Linked DNA regions of Homo sapiens: all the other regions are linked to region 3. Evidence: promoter capture Hi-C in 16 types of primary human blood cells and fetal thymus (Javierre and others, 2016). All regions are on one chromosome and are shown on one strand. The core of a region is centred on a gene start or on the middle of the fragment in contact, and the rest is flanking DNA. Distances in the headings are between cores, read along the strand shown.

Region 1 (2,700 bases), core at 65-2,564, 330 kb after region 3:
GTTCAAGCAATTCTCCTGCCTCAGCCTCCTGAGTGATTGGGATTACAGGCATGCGCCACCACGCCTGGCTGATTTTTGTAATTTTAGTAGAGATGGGGTTTCACCACTTTGTCCAGGCTGGTCTTGAACTCCTGGCCTCAAGTGATCCGGCAGCCTTGGCCTCCGAAAGTGCTGGAATTACAGATATGAGCCACTGCAGCCTGCCTTTTTCTCTCCGCTTTGGATGCTCTTTCTCCAGATGTCTGCACGGCTCCATCCCTTACTTCATACAGGTCCCTGGTCGATGTTTTCTCCATAGAGAGGTTTTCCTGATCACTTTATCTCAGATGACACCCGTGGACACTCTCTTCCCATTATCCTGCTTAATTTGGCTTCATAACACTTCCACCACATGATATTAACTTACTTATATGTTAATTAGTTAGTTTCTTGTGTGTTTCTTCTACTCTTTCTCATTCTCTCTTTCTTTCTCTCTCTCTCTCTCTCTGATTTGTTACTTTGTCGTCAACCAATGGGCACTCGTCTACTAATAATCTAAGTTGTATGACGGTAGAGACTGTTTTACTTAGCACTTTATTCTTCGTGACATGAACAGTCTCTAACATAAACTAGGTGCATTCCAGCCTGGCCCACGTGGTGAAACCCCGTCTCTACTAAAAATACAAAAATTAGCCTGTGTGGTGGCATGCAACTGTAATCCCAGTTCCTCAGGATGCTGAGGCAGGAGAATTGCTTGAACCTGGGAGGCGGAAGTTGCAGTGAGGGAGGTCATGCTATTGCACTCCAGCCTGGGCGACAGAGTGAGATACCGTCAAAAAAAAAAAAAAAAAAAAATTAGGTGCACAATGGATCTTTATTGAATGAATGAGTGAATTTCTATCCTTCCTCTTCAGTGAACAGTAGGGTTCATGTAAATGAGTCGTTATTTGAGTGATAATAGTTCATGTCCTTTTTCCTCCCTGACCATAGTTTGTACTTTGTGTGTATAGTTGTGTGTGAATGTATGCATGTAAATGTTCTAACATTGAAGACTAAGCAGAGATTATTTTCCATAGCAGAAAAGAAGTGGCCCTAGCAGTTTCATAAATCAGAATTCAATTTAGGGTTCTATGTGAAAAGTTAATTTCATCCCATGGCAGCACAGTGGAAAAAAACAATTTCTACATGTCTGCAAAAAACGTTTTTATTTTCCCAAGATCAAAAACAAGCACTGACAGGCTGGGTGCTGTGGCTCACACCTGTAATGCCCTCACTTTAGGAGGCTGAGTTGGGAGGATTGCTTGAAGCCAGGAGTTGAAGACCAACTTGGCCAAGGTAGCCAGGCCCCATCACTTAAAAACAACAACAACAACAACCAGTGTTAATGGTCTACCTGCTGGGCCCTCCAAAAACTTAGGGACATTATCTGATGTACCTGTGTTTTCACAGTATTTACTATTAAATGAAGGTAAAGAGTGGCTTCTGGTTGGTTAAAAAACAGTTGAGAAGGAGATATTGAAGGTTGTCAATGGGTAATAAAACCTGGTTTTAATACTATCCTGGGACCCTCTGGTGGAGGCAAGGAAGGATTCCTGTGGTCTCTCTGCAGATGTTTTGCTAAATGAAACCCTGCAACCTGGAACTTCAAAAGTATCTCAAGACTGGGCGCAATGGCTTATGCCTGTAATCCTAACACTTTGAGAGGCTGAGGCCAGGGGATTGCTTGAGGCTGGGAGTTCGAAACCAGCGTGGGCAATACAGTGAAACCCCGTCTCTACTAAAAATGCAAAAATTAGCCAGGGGTGGTGGTGTGTGCTTGTAGTCCCAGCTACTGGGGAGGCTGACAAGATCACTTGCACCCAAGAGGTGGAAGTTGCAGTGAGCCAAGATCACACCACTGCACTCCAGCCTGGGCGACAGATTGAGACGCTATCTCAACAACAACAACAACAAAAAAGGTATCTCAGATTATGTAGTCTCAGATGGTATAGCGATGGGAGCGATGGTTAAGGAAAAAATTTTCAGCAGCCCTTCGGCTGTCAACAAGTATAAACAGTCAGGCAAGAAACAAACAAAAAAACAAAAACAAAAAAACAAACACACATTAACAAAACCATTCAAGAGGTGGCCTTCAGCAAAATTAGCAGACTCCAATGTAGAAAACCAGGTCATTTGGGGTGTGTCTGGAGGACAGAGAAAGAAGCCCAGCATTGCAATGGAGGTGATGAGAGCTATAACTGTTCTGTTTCTGGATAAGCCCACCACTGGCTTAGATGTTAGCACATCAAATGCACTTCTTCTCCTGAAGATGACAAGGCAGAGAAGGCCCATCCTCTTCTCCATTCCTTAGCCCTGTTAGGCCATCTTCAAACCTTTTGATAGCCTTACCTTGCTGGCTTCTGGAAGGGTGATGTTCCATGGGTCCTGTATAAAAAACTTTGAAATATTTTGCTCTGCGAGTTACCAGTGTAAATCCTATAAAAACTCTGCTGATTTCTTCACACATGTTAATAGAGGCTCCTCTGCTGTGACCTTAAATAGGAAGCAAGGAGGTGAGAAACCTGGGGAACTTGAAAAGCCTCCCAAACAGGATAAACAATGAATAGAGGAATTAGCTGAATTTTATGTCAATTGTTCTTTCTACAGGGAAACGAAATATGAATGTAATGAACTCTCAGTAGGTGAAAAAAGGAGTGAACTTTCTTTGATCATCAACTCAGG
Region 2 (2,700 bases), core at 141-2,640, 370 kb after region 3:
CACCATGCCCATGCCCAACTAATTTTAGAGACAAGGTTTCACCATGTTGGCCAGGCTTGTTTGCAGTGGCGTGATCTCAACTGAACCTGGGAGGCAACCTCCGCCTCCCAGGTTCAAGCAATTCTCCTGCCTCAGCCTCCTGAGTAGCTGGGACTACAGGCGCACACCATGCCCATGCCCAACTAATTTTAGAGACAAGGTTTCACCATGTTGCCCAGGCTGGTTTTGAACTCCTGACCACAAGTGATCTACCTGCCTCAGCCTCCCAAAGTGCTGAGATTACAGGTGTGAGCCACTGTGCTTGGCCCTAAAATGCAATCATTTGGAATAAAGTTTTAATCTTTTCTTTGTTCTATTGATTGATGACTATAACGCTCTAACAAGGATTTATCCATCATTTAGGAAATGACTTCATGAAGTTGTTAGGGACTGATAACTGGGTGAGATGAAGCCCAGGGGGGTTCTTTCCTTTCTGTGTGTCAAACATTGTTTTTTGAAGTCTAACAACAATTTACACAAATTTTCTAATGACTAATATTCTCTTTTCTTATAAACTTGTTAAAAATTCTTTATAAAGGGAAACAATTTTCTAATAGACCTGTGTTCTATCTGAAGAAACCTTTCAAATGTACATTGTTTAAGGGAAAAAGTTTTAAAGTTTGAAGAGATTTAAAGATGAGAATTTTAAGCCACCTTATCACAGAGACCCTAACCAAATGGCATTAAAAAAAAAAAGTAGAGCATTACCTCATACACTCAATTAACATCTGAATTAAGGGAAACATTCACTTGTAGGTGGGGAAATTTTTATTAGCAAAACTTCACTGACATTAAAAAAAAATCCTGGAACACGTGTATATAAGTTTCAGCTTTCTGTGCATGAAGCCCTTCACTTCATCTCATTCCTAGTAAATAAATGATCTCCAGAAAAGTATGAAGACACAGTGCTGGGTGTGTCCAAATGTGTCTTCTTTGACATCTTTTAACAAAAATCCATACATAATGACTTGTAATTTTACAAAATTTACTAGGCATCTATTTATGTATTAGAGGTGAGGGTTTAAGGATATGTTCCATAAGAAACATAGCAATATAGGGCAGGGATAGTGACTGACACCTGTAATCCCAGCACTTCGGGAGGCTGAGGTGGGTGGGTCACCTGAGGTCAGGAGTTCAAGACCAGCCTGGCCAATATGGTGAAATCCCGTTTCTACTAAAAATACAAAAAATTAGCTGGGCGTGGTGGCAAGTGCCTGGAATCCCAGGTACTCAGGGCGCTGAGGCAGGAGAATTGCTTGAACCCAGGAGGTAGAGGTTGCGGTGAGCTGAGATTGCACCATTGCACTCGAGCCTGGGCAACAGGAGTGAAACTCCATCTCAAAAAAAAAAAATTTCCAGAGTTGGTGTTGTTCACATGCACTTGACCATAAATCCCCCTAAGATGGATCCTTGAAAAATTTTAGACTTGGACTAAGTCTATAATGATTCATAAACATAAGGGAATTTTATAAAATAACGAATGAGAGCATCTTCTACATGCCAGTCAATCCTGTAGCTCCAGGTATATAGAGACGGAAAATACCATCTCTGCCCATTGGTTAAGCAAGGGTTTTGGCAAGGCTATGGAGCAAAAGGAATTCCCATACATTGCTGGTGAGAAAGAAAACTGTGGTAACCCCATTGAAAAACAGTTTGTCTTAAAAAATCTTTTTGAAGACAGAGTCTCGCTCTGTTCCCAGGCTGGAGTCCAGCAGTGTGATCATAGCTCACTGAAGGCTCAAACTCTTGGGCTCAAATGATCCTCCTACCTTAGACTCCCAAGCAGCTGGGACTATAGGCACATGCCACCACGCCTGATTAATTTTTTATTTTTATTATTTTTAGAGACAGGATCTCACTATGTTGGCCAGGCTGGTCTTGAACTCCTGGGCTGAAGCAGTCCTCTCATTTCGGCCTCCCAAAGTGCTGGGATTACAGGTGTGAGCCACTGTGCCTGGCCCAGTGTGGCGTTTTCTACTAAAGCTGAACACATGTATACTCTGTGAGTCAGCAATTCTTTCTCATACGTGTCCCTGAGTAATGCATGCATACATGTGCCAGGATTCTTGTAAACGAATGTTTTCAGAAGCATTGTTTATTGTAGCTCCAAACTGGGCCATCAACTTTAGAAAGAATAAATAAATTGTGGGGTATCACACACAATGGAAATCTAGACAGAAGAGAAAATAAACTACAGCTGAATGCAGTAACATCCTGGAATCTTAAACATGGCATTGATTGAAAGGAAGACGACAAGAGAGAACACCCACAAGATGACCCTATTTCTATAAAATTCAACACCAGGAAAAATTAAACTTTATTTTTAAGCATGCATACAAAGCTAGTGAAACTATAAAGAAAAGTGAAGAAGTGATTACCAGAAGGGAAAGGACAGTAGTTGTTTCCAGGAGCATGTGAGCAGGGTATGGCTGAAACAAGACACATGAGGTTTCAGGAAGTGCTGATTTGCATGCAGTTTCACAGATTTTCAAAAAGTAATGATTCAATATTCTGTATATTTATTTTATGCATTCTTCCATATGTTGCTGTAACTGAAAAAATTTTTAAAAGATCAAATTTACAATCCCACCTTGAATTTAGAGTGATAATGAAGTTAAATGAGATTTGGCCAACAGGGCTAGGAAGGTGAGAATAAGTCCT
Region 3 (2,748 bases), core at 131-2,630:
CATTGGCCAATCTATCTGTCCATTTCTTTTAATATTAAAAACATTAATTATTATTAGTAGTATTATATTAATATGAAGTCTCACTTTGTTGATTCACCCAATCCCTTTCATGAGAGATGTGGAGGTTGGTCTTGGCTGTTAGGAAACGTAGATTCTAATCCATTCAACAGCCCAGTGATTTGAGAACTTCAGCTCTCTGGGTCTCCCTGTACTCCTTTGGAAAACGAGAGACGAAGTTGATTGTTGCAGTGGGGATTTGGGTCCTGCAGTCTGGCTGTCTGGGTTGGAATTGAGCTTCGCCATAGGTACCCTTGGGTAAATTTACTTAATCCCTCAGGGTTTCATCTTCCTGTTTTGTAAAATGTAAATAACAATAACGCTCACCTCGAAGGGTTGTTGTGAAGATTACATGAACGATTTCATGTATTCATTCCGTCAACATTGAACACCTAGTCTCCAGCTCTGCGAGGGGAATGGGGTGGAGTGGCACAGAAAATACGGGGGCCAGGCTGTTTAGCGCCTAAAGGGAGAGTCCAGATCACCCATGGTAAACACGAAATAAGATGCAGTATTTCAAATAGCTAGAACTGAGACGAAAATACAACGCAGCAATTTGATGGAGAGCAACTTCGAGAAAGGTGAGCTGCAACATTAACTCGGCTGATCTGGGACAGTCTGGCGGGGGAGGTGACATCTGAGCCCCACCTGACTTAGAGGATGTCAGCTATGGATGATCCGGGTTTCCACACGCAGCAGTTCTCAAGCCAGGTGACTGCACCGCCCTAAAGTTCCCTCCACTTTTGGCAATGTCTGGGGATTTTTGGTTGCCAGCAATGGGAATTGGGGGGTTTGTTCTTGTATCTAGTGGGTATAGGCTAGGAACGCCGCCCAGTATCCTACAGTGCACAGGACACCCCAAGCCCCCCCAAATTAGCTGGCCCAAAGATAAAGAGAGAAGAGCAAGGGCAAAGGTCCTGCAGGAGTCAGAAAGGAGCTTGCTGTGTTCAGAAAACTCAAAATCCAGTGTGGCTGAGTGAGGACGACGAAGAATGAGGTAGACTGGGCTAGACTATGGAGCACTTTTTACGGCACGGTGAGGAATTTGGAATTATACTCAAAGCAGTGGAAAGCCCTTGAAGAGTTTTAAACAGAAGGGGAAGGTAACCCATGTGAAACGCTTTGCATATATAAGCGCTCAATAAATACTGTCTATTATTAATATTATTATCACCATTGTGTCTACCCTACTTGGCTCCAGACCCGGCCCATGCCTCAGCGAGGCCGCAGTGACTCCTCCTGGCCAGCAGAGGGCGCCAGCGGACACTTGGCTACCGGCCGCCCAGGGCGGGCCTCCTCTTGCCGTCCCCTTCCTCGTCTTTTCCCCTCAGGAGAAGTCGGGAAGGTGGCGGCGGCGGCGGCGGTTGTCCCGGCTGTGCCGGTTGGTGTGGCCCGTCAGCCCGCGTACCACAGCGCCCGGGCCGCGTCGAGCCCAGTACAGCCAAGCCGCTGCGGCCGGGTCCGGCGCGGGCGGCGCGCGCAGACGGAGGGCGGCGGCCGCGGCCAGGGCGGCCCGTGGGACCGCGGGCCCCCGGCGCAGCGCTGCCCGGCTCCCGGCCCTGCCGGCCTCCTCCCTTGGCGCCGCGGCCATGGCGGCCAGCGCGAAGCGGAAGCAGGAGGAGAAGCACCTGAAGATGCTGCGGGACATGACCGGCCTCCCGCACAACCGAAAGTGCTTCGACTGCGACCAGCGCGGCCCCACCTACGTTAACATGACGGTCGGCTCCTTCGTGTGTACCTCCTGCTCCGGCAGCCTGTGAGTGCGGGGCGGCCGGGCGGGTGTCGGGCCCTTCCCGGGAGGTGGGGGAGCGGGCGGCGGGACCGGGACCCTTCCGGGGCTGGGAAAGAGCCGGGTGCCGTGGGAGGCGGTCGGGGGCGGCCGTTGGGCGCCGGCTGGCGGGCGCGGCGTGGGAGGCTGCGGGCTGGATGCGCAGGGCCCGGGCAGCCGGGCTGGGGATGCGTTTTCGGTTTTGCCGGGCGAGGGTTTACGTTCTGGGCAGCCTTCGTGGGTGGGACGTGGGCGGGGTTGGGGTCAGGGAGGGGGCGACCGGGGCGAGCGTCCCTGGTCTCCGTCGAGCCTGCGGCCGCCGCCCTCGCTCTCCAGCTACCCGGGGCGCCGGGCTGTGGGGGGTGGGGGAAGACGCTAGGAGGCCGGGGGGGAGGTCCATGCGGGTCCTTTGTGTGCCCCGCCTCTCAGCGGCCCGGGAGCCGCGGTGCGGAGCGAGGCACCTGCTGGGCGCTCCTGCTGGGGGTCGGGGAGAAGCTGGGGTGGGAGGGAGGGACGCCTGCCTCGCCCGTGCCTTTTTTCTGGGTCGAGAGTACCTACGTAACTGGGAGGAAGCAGGCACTTAGGAATAGTAGCAGGATGAAAGCATCTTGATGGCAGATGTGAATCCCCTGGGAAAAGTTCGAAAGGATTAATTGCGGGAGGGGGAGGCAGAGGAGCAGATTTGAAGCTGTGGGATTTTAGTTTTATGGTCCGAAGAGAGTGTTGAGGAGTTGGGGGAAAGTTTTAATGGCAATAAGGTACCCACTAGGAGCTGTGTGATTCTAAATATGATGGAGTTATCTGTGAGATTTATCTGTATCTCGCTATCAATACCCGAGTGCCCTGGCTGTACACAGAAATGAGGAGAGCTAGCAAGTCACCATGATTTCAGAAAGACACTACCGTCCTGAGTTACTGGGATG
Region 4 (2,700 bases), core at 23-2,522, 350 kb after region 3:
GAATTTTGCAATTTGGGATGGAGGAAGTTGACAGACTTTGAATATGGTGGTCTTGCTTTTCTTGGTGAAAGACTAGTCACCTTTTGAGAGTGATGAGTGAGCTTTGACATGAATGGAGAAGCTTTGAGATAGTCAGTAGAGGACACAGGGGTACACTCAAGGTTGTTCCACAGTGTTGGGGTTCACTGAAGTCGGAGATAACTAAGCTGCTGTGATTTCCATTGGCACACACCAGGTGGCCTGCTGCAGTTTGGGTGTAAGAATAGACAGTGGTGACTAGTTGGACTAGTTTAGGGTCAGGCTTTGCATCTAGGCACAGTGCAAGGACAAGAGGGCAAGAGTCAATGACAGAGGTTCAGAGAGGGGTTAAAGTGCTGAACCATGCAGTCTAGACCAGAGACAGGAGATGAGGTCCAAAGGTATCTGAGACACTGAGAGAGTATGGGGAGGCCCTCAGATAAAAGGCCTCAATGTGGTCAAAGAGCAGGAGAATGGGAGGGCTGGAGGGGCTGGAGCAGCTCCAGGGGCCAAAGTCCAAGTGTGTGACTGTGGGTGTGCAACTCAAGTGGTGGGGTAGCAGGGCGATGACTGGAAGGCTACCAGGATGGATGAGTCATTCCCATTGATTTTCCCTCTACTTTTTCCCTCTTTTTTAAAAAAATATAGAGTTGGGGTCTCACTATGTTGCCCAGGCTGGTCTTGAACTCCTGGGCTCAAGCATCCTCCTGCCTCAGCCTCCCAAAGAGCTGGGATTACAGGCATAAGCCACCATGCCCTGCTTCCCTCCACTTTTTATTATGGAAAGTACAAAAGTGGAGAGAATCATATAAAAATCCCCCTTGTATCCACCATCTGGATTCAACTGACTAATGGCCAATCTTGTTACATCTACACCACCCAACTCACTTCTTCCCATCTATCCCCCTGGATTACTTTGAAGCAATTTCTAGACATTAAATTATTTTGTTTATAAGTACTTCTCCCTCTCTCTATATATGTACATATATATATATATATATATATATATATATATATATATATATGAACTTTTAAAAACATACAATTTCCCTCACATGGATTTAAAAATCAACACTAATTCTCTAATATCACCCAATGTCCAGTGTTCAAATTTTCTTGCTTGCTTTAAAAAAAATTGTTTTAAAAAACATTATTTGCATCCATCTTTTCTTTAAATGAAGATATAAAGATGTAGATGAAGGTGTAAATGAAGATCCGAAAGAGGTCCACACACTTCATTTGTTTGGCTTGTTTTTTTTTTTTTTGCTTTTAATCTGAGAGCTCCTCACCACCAGCCCCCATCTCCTTTCCTTTTCCTTTGAAATTTATGCTTTGGAGAAACCAAGACATTTGTTCTGTGGTTTCCCACCTTGTGGGTTTTGTTAATTGCATTCCTGTGGTGTTATTTAGCATGTTCTTTGACCCTACTTAGAAATAGAGGCTGGGTTGGATTGGAATTTACTATGCAAGGGGACAAGGCTACTGAATAAGTGGCATTATGCCACATGGGTACAAAGTGGTCCACACTGATGTCAACAGGAATGAAAGGGAACACTGAGCTGAAGAACTGATCAAGGCCATTAACTGACAGCCAGCGGGAGGGGAAGTGGATGGTCTAATGACATCCATATGCTTCAAAGAAGATGATGGGAAAGGTGTGTAGGAATGAGAAAGTGCCATCATGGAAGCACAAGAATACTGGTCTCTACCCACTCCTGGCCCTGTGGTGGGAGAGGAGTGAGAGAGGAGCCCCTTCATGTTGAGAAGACCCCAGGGAGAAGTAGTGTTCTTGCCATAAAATCTGATTTCAGATGAAGCCAGGAGATGGAGAAGTGGAAGATGGAAGGACAGAGAAGTTGCTTTACAACAGAAAAAAGTTTCCACTGAAGGTCATGGGGGGCATTGTGGAGTTCAGCTGGAGGCACAAAGGAGAATTGGGACGGAAGCACTAGCAGTATGAGAAAGAAAAGATGAATACAAAGATTTGGGTAGTAATCATGTCATTAATAATATTTAGATTATTTAAGCATTTGTATGTTAATATCATCTGCTAAGATTGCCAATGTACCTCATTGGAATATGAGCTCTGAACTCTATTTTTATGCCTGTTCTTGGGTAAAGAAACTGAGGCTCAGGAGAGTTAAGAAACTTACTCAAGGTCACACAGTCTTTAGAAATACAATGGAGTCTAGAGTTGGTCTCAGGGCTCCCTCCTGGCCTCTGGCATAAGATATTTTTGTGTCAAGGAGACGGCAGATGCTCAGTCTTGGGGCTGTTTATTTGCAATCTTCTTGTACATCTGTTTGCTCTGCTGTTCTAGAAGTTACCATCAAAGTATTAGAGCATTTTAGACTTTTTTTTTGGATTAAAAAGGCTTCCAAATAAAAAGTTTGTTTCTCCAAGGAGTAAGCTTCAATTGTGATGTGGACACCTTCTTCCCTAGCAGTGCCAGACATATATCACACTGTTGTACTTTTCTTTCTTGCTACATCTCTTCACAGTTTATTGGATAAAAATAATGTTTTCCACTCACTCACTCATTTATTCATTCAACCAAGAGATGTTTATTGAACACTTACTCTGTGCCAGGTCCTGAGGCGGTCATTGGGGATAAACAAGACAACCTTGCGGCTTTCATGTGCCTCATGGTTTAGAAGTGGGGACACACAACACATAGCACCA

Evidence for each region. Contacts are between HindIII fragments. The CHiCAGO score rates a contact against its expected background, and 5 or more counts as called.
Region 1: a fragment that was not itself captured here is called in contact with the fragment with the promoter of AGFG1 in region 3 in 1 of 17 cell types (M1 macrophages); the score reaches 5.4 in M1 macrophages.
Region 2: a contact is called between a fragment that was not itself captured here and the fragment with the promoter of AGFG1 in region 3, in 1 of 17 cell types (M2 macrophages). The highest score is 5.4, in M2 macrophages.
Region 4: a fragment that was not itself captured here is called in contact with the fragment with the promoter of AGFG1 in region 3 in 2 of 17 cell types (M2 macrophages and monocytes); the score reaches 6.8 in M2 macrophages.

What each region holds. Positions count from the first base shown.
Region 1 is chr2:227,800,530-227,803,229 of GRCh38, forward strand. It overlaps the pseudogene LOC100533842. Among named protein-coding and RNA genes, the nearest start is that of CCL20, 12 kb to the right of the region's middle. The HindIII fragment of the contact is 5,314 bases long and covers 1-2,700 here.
Region 2 is chr2:227,844,585-227,847,284 of GRCh38, forward strand. No RefSeq gene overlaps it. Among named protein-coding and RNA genes, the nearest start is that of DAW1, 26 kb to the right of the region's middle. The HindIII fragment of the contact is 8,455 bases long and covers 1-2,700 here.
Region 3 is chr2:227,470,776-227,473,523 of GRCh38, forward strand. AGFG1 (ArfGAP with FG repeats 1) reads left to right here and starts at 1,381. Exons shown (of 13, transcript NM_004504.5): 1 at 1,381-1,813. The coding sequence starts at 1,647. MIR5703 (microRNA 5703) reads left to right here and starts at 1,357; the gene lies at 1,357-1,412. It overlaps LOC124907994 (a long non-coding RNA gene), which reads right to left and starts at 1,324. Exons shown (of 2, transcript XR_007088114.1): 1 at 385-1,324; 2 at 13-214. RefSeq lists an enhancer at 294-1,257 and a silencer at 1,370-2,089. The HindIII fragment of the contact is 6,204 bases long and covers 1-2,748 here.
Region 4 is chr2:227,821,199-227,823,898 of GRCh38, forward strand. No RefSeq gene overlaps it. Among named protein-coding and RNA genes, the nearest start is that of CCL20, 8.7 kb to the left of the region's middle. The HindIII fragment of the contact is 2,307 bases long and covers 120-2,426 here.